2 separate regions of the Homo sapiens genome follow, and region 2 is linked to region 1. Evidence: promoter capture Hi-C in 16 types of primary human blood cells and fetal thymus (Javierre and others, 2016). All regions are on one chromosome and are shown on one strand. The core of a region is centred on a gene start or on the middle of the fragment in contact, and the rest is flanking DNA. Distances in the headings are between cores, read along the strand shown.

Region 1 (2,621 bases), core at 47-2,546:
TTAGTACAGAGGGGGTTTCACCAGGCTGGCCAGGCTGTTCTCGAACTCCTTACCTCAGTCTCCCAAAGTGCTGGGATTCCAGGCGTAAACCACCGTGCCCTGGCAGCTCTTAGGTGTACTTTTTTTTTTTTTTTTTTGAGACGGAGTCTCACTCTGTCGCCCAGGCTGGAGTGCAGTGGTGCCATCTCGGCTCACTGCAAGCTCCACCTCCCGGGTTCACGCCATTCTCCTGCCTCAGCCTCCCGAGTAGCTGGGAGTACAGGCGCCCGCCAGCACGCCCGGCTAATTTTTTGTATTTTTAGTAGAGACAGGGTTTCACCGTGTTAGCCAGGATGGTCTCGATCTCCTGACCTCGGGATCCGCCCGCCTCGGCCTCCCAAAGTGCTGGGATTACAGGCGTGAGCCACCGCGCCCGGCCACTCTTAGGTGTACGTCTAATCGATGTTTATTATTTAGCCAAGTGTTTGGATCTCACCGGCATTACAACTGGAATCATGCAACCTCACACTCAGTTTAGGGTACATTATTCCCCTGTTCCTTTTCCTTTACTTCCATGGGATGTTGGAGCTTATTCCTTCATTAGTTAGTTCCATAAAAAGCTCCTGGACTCCTTACATGCACTGTGTAAGTGCGAGTGGAAGAGGACAGGCTGGTGACCTTGGTTAAGTCTCTTCAGCGATGGAGGACTCTGTTTCCTTCATTGTAAAAACGGCGTGATCATAAGGAAATAATGCGCTAAGGCGTCACAGTAAGTGCTTAATACAGTGGTTCTCGAGGTGTGATCTCCAGACCGACCAGCAGTACCAGTACCACCTGGGAACTCGATAGAAATGCAAATCCTAGGGCCTCACCCCAGATTTACAGAATCAGAAACTCTATGGGGAGGACTAGCAAACAATCCGTTTAAACAAGTCTTGGAGGTGATGAGGATTCATGCTCAAGTTTGAGAACCGCAGGGTTAATAGGTGGTAACTACTAGCAGTTGGTACTTGAGGCTGCAGAGACAATGAAAAACTCAGCTGGCTAAAGTTAAGCACTAAGGTGCCAGCAGCACCCCACAGGGCTCTCCACTGCCTCAGTCCCCGCCCTCCCTGCCGTCTCACTCAACTGGGCCTTCCGAGAGCGCTCGCTGATTGGTGGAGTCTCTGGTCGACATTCACTACCCACTCAACCGCAGAGCTCATAAACTGAGAGGGGCGGAAGTGGGCGGGGCGAGAGCTGTGCGCCTATTGGCTACAGACCACGCCGCAGGGTGAGTGGGGCGGAGCTGCGCGTGCGCAGGGCCGCGGTGCGGCCCTGGCGGCCGTTGAAAAATGGCGACTGTGGCAGAGTTGAAGGCTGGTGAGTGCGAGCAGGGAGGCCTCCACATGGGAAGCGTCGGGCCTTCATCTTGTGGAAAGGATGGGATGGGAGGAGAGCGCGCGGAACACATGGGTTGGCTTTTACAGGCGTCATTCTTCGGTGTGAGGGCCTGCGGGGAGCGTCTGGCTGCTGTCTTGGCCCGTGCGCGGGGAGCTCTTATGGGGAAGAGGTTGCCCACTGGCGAGTTTTAAGCCAGTTTGGAGCTAAAGGAGGAGTTGCGTAATCTTCAGGCATCTAAGAGGCCTACAGGCCTGCATCTTGGGCCCCTGGCTCATCTTCTTGGACCCTGCCGGGGGCTGGAGGACTTGGACCAGGCTTGGCACTCAGGGCTGATGACTACAATTCCCACAACCCCTATTGGGTTAGGCACTGCCCTAAACAATTTGCTTGGTTGTCTCGTTGGGTCCTTACAACAACCTGTTAAGTAGCCCTCCCCTCCTTGCTTTTTTTTTTTTTTTTTAAAGAGAGGGTCTCTCTGTCGCCCAGGCTGGAGTGCAGTAGCGCGATCACAGCTCACTGCAGCTTCGAACTCCGGGACTCCAGCTATCCTCCCACCTCAGCTTCCAGAGCAGGTGGGAATACAGGGGCTCTTCACTACGCCCGGCTAATTTTTGTATTTTTTGTAGACACGGGGTCTTACTGTCGAACTCCTGGTCTCAAGCTATCCTCCTGCCTTGGCCCCCTCAAAGTGCTGGGATTACAGGTGTGAGCGCCTGGCCCCTTTTTCATCAGAAGAAACTAGAGGCAAAAAGTTTGCTGGCCTGGCCATTCTCCTGTCTTTTCAGGAAAAGATACTCTAAGCTAGTTATGTTTGAGTCATTAATGACATTTGTACGCTGTTTACTTTGAAGCAAATGTCCAGACAAGTAATAGTAATAATAGTTATCATTGAGCCTCATGTGTCAGGCACTACTCAACTCAGCCTGTGTGTTACCTGATTGTAACAACCCTATGCCCATTTCATAGACTGGGAAACGAGGTACTGAGAAGTGAAATAGCTCAAAGTGATTTCACTGGAAAGAGACACAGCATGGGAACCTAGTTGTGACGCACTGGAGCGCCAGGTCTTAATCACTGAGCAAGATTGCTGTCCAAAAAATAAAACCAGTTCCACTTTGCAGGGAACCCAGGGTTTAAACTAGTAATTCTTAGATATTTTAGGGAGGAGACGTGTATAAAAGTGTGTATTTGGGGACAGGGCTGGTGAACAATCATAAAACAGAACAGGCATGCATCTGTCCACAAGAACAGACTTCACG
Region 2 (2,621 bases), core at 60-2,559, 3.2 Mb before region 1:
CGGTGGCTCATGCCTGTAATCCCAGCACTTTGGGAGGCCGAGGCAGGTGGATCACCTGAGGTCAGAAGTTTGAGACCAGCCTGACCAATATAGTAAAACCCCATCTCTACTAAAAATACAAAAATTAGGCCGGGTGAGGTGGCTCACACCTGTAATCCCAGCACTTTGGGAGGCCAAGGCAGGTGGATCACCTGAGGTCAGAAGTTTCAGACCAGCCTGACCAACGTGGTGAAACCCCACCTCTACTAAAAATACAAAAATTAGGCCAGGCGAGGTGGCTCACGCCTGTAATCTCAGCACTTTGGGAGGCCGAGGCAGGTGGACCACCTGAGGTCAGGAGTTCGAGACCAGCCTGGCCAACAAGGTGAAACCCCGAAACCCCGTCTCTACTAAAAATACAAAAAATTAGCCGGGCGTGGTGGCAGGTGCCTGTAATCCCATCTACTTGGGATGCTGAGGCAGGAGAATTGCTTGAACCCAGGAGGTGGAGGTTGCAGTGAACTGAGATCACACCACTGCACTCCAGCCTGGGCGACAGAGTGAGACCCTGTCTCAAAGGAAAAAAAAAAAAAAAAAGACTGGCCATCATGGTGAAACCCCTTCTCTACTAAAAATACAAAAGTTAGCCGGTTGTGATGGTGGGTGCCTGTAATCCCAGCTACTTGGGAGGCTGAGGAAGGAGAATCAATTGAACCCGGGAGGTGGAGGTTGCAGTGAGCTGAAATTGCGGCACTGCACTCCAGACTGGGTGACAGAGCAAGACTCTGTCTCAAAAAAAAAAAAAAATGCACAGTAGACTCTTACAAACCCTTCAGCAGCTTCCCATCCCACTCAGAATAAAACTCTAAACAGAGCCCTCAAGGCACTGTGACTTGATGACTCTGGTTGCTATTACAATATCACCTTGCCTCTTCCCATCACTCACCACCCTGTGGCCACACTGTCCCCTCCCTCCTGTCCCCCTGAAGTGCCTGGCTCATTTCTTTACTGTGCTCTTTGCCTCTTACTTTCATCCTTAAATAGGACCTCAGATAATGGGCTCCTCTCTCTATTATTCAAGTCTCAGCTAGGGTCCAGGCATAGTGGCTCATGCCTGTAATCCCAGCACTTTGGGGAACTGAGAGGGGACAATCACTTGAGCCCAGGAGTTCAAGACCAGCCTGGGCAACATAGGGAGACCTCATGTCTATAAAAAATTTAAAAATTAGCCAGGCATGGTGATGCACGCCTGTAGTCCCAGCTACTTGGGAGGCTAAGGTGGGAGGATGGCTTGAGACCAAGAGTTTGAGGCTGCTGTGAGCTATGACCACACAATCGCACTCCAGCCTGGGCGAGAGAGTGAGACCCCGTCCTGAATAAAAAAATAAAAAAAAATCACCTCCTCAAAGAAGCCTTCTACAGCCGCATCTGCAGTAACTGATAGCCCGCTTGTCACTCTACCTTGTTTTTATTGTCTTCATAGAAGCTATAATTAATCAGCATTTATCTTATTAACTACCCAGCAGCTTTGTCTCTTGTTCACCAAAGCGTCCCAGCACCCAGCATAGTACAAGGCACAGAGTAGGTACTTAATACACATCTTTTTTTATTTTTATTTTTAAGATGGAGTCTCACTCTGTCACCCAGGCTGGAGTGCAATAGCGCAATCTCAGCTCACTGCGACCTCCACCTCCTGAGTTCAAGGGATTCTCCTGCCTCAGCCTCCCAAGTAGCTGGGATTACAGGTGCCCACCACCACGCCCAACTACTTTTTGTATTTTTAGTAGAGACGGGGTTTCACCATGTTGGCCAGGCTGGTCTTGAACTCCTGAGCTCAAGTAATCTGCCTGCCTCGGCCTCCCAAAAGTGCTGGGATTACAGGCATGAGCCACCACATCCCCCTTAATACACATCTTGAAGGAATGGATGAATCAGTGAATTAATGAAGCTGGACGCGGCTGGGCCTCAAGGCAGAGTTTTGGGGAGGTGGTGGTGAGAGAAGGCTGCAGTAATTTCACTCCCTCCCAGGAAAACAGCACTTTCCTTGCAGTGTCCTGGGTAAATGTCCCCAGCCATGACCCTCTGGAGCTATGCTTCCTTACCAGGGATAGCTGCTCTCGGAGCTGGATGACCACCCGTTTGTGTGCTCCAGCTAAGGCAATGAAGTAAAACATGATGAGGCTGCAACACAAGACAGACAGGTCACAAGGGAGTCTGGATCATCTGAAGGCCAATAGAAAAATAACCCAACATATTTTTCCTTGGAACAGTTTTACTCTTGTTAGAAAAGAAGGCTGGGCATGATGGCTCATTTTATAATACCAGTGCTTTGCCCAGGCAGAAGGATCACTTAAGGCTGGGAGTTTGAGACCAGCCCAGGCAACATAGGGAGAGCCCCACCTCTAGAAAAATAAAATATGGCCGGGCGCAGTGGCTCACACCTGTAATCCCAGCACTTTGGGAGGCCGAGGCAGGCGGATCACCTGAGGTCAGGAATTTGAGACCAGCCTGACCAACATGGTGAAACCCCGTCTCTACTAAAAATACAAAAGTTAGCTGGGCGTGGTGGTGGACGCCTATAATCCCAGCTACTCAGGAGGCTGAGACAGGAGAATCCCTTGAACCCAAGAGGCAAAGGTTGC

What was found. Contacts are between HindIII fragments. The CHiCAGO score rates a contact against its expected background, and 5 or more counts as called.
Region 2: a fragment that was not itself captured here is called in contact with the fragment with the promoter of CEP20 in region 1 in 1 of 17 cell types (fetal thymus); the score reaches 9.6 in fetal thymus.

Annotation. Positions count from the first base shown.
Region 1 is chr16:15,887,278-15,889,898 of GRCh38, reverse strand. It overlaps CEP20 (centrosomal protein 20), which reads left to right and starts at 1,296. Exons shown (of 5, transcript NM_144600.4): 1 at 1,296-1,341. The coding sequence starts at 1,314. The HindIII fragment of the contact is 7,894 bases long and covers 1-2,621 here.
Region 2 is chr16:19,058,955-19,061,575 of GRCh38, reverse strand. It overlaps TMC7 (transmembrane channel like 7), which reads right to left. Exons shown (of 16, transcript NM_024847.4): 15 at 2,082-2,160. Among named protein-coding and RNA genes, the nearest start is that of COQ7, 7.3 kb to the left of the region's middle. The HindIII fragment of the contact is 3,685 bases long and covers 1-2,621 here.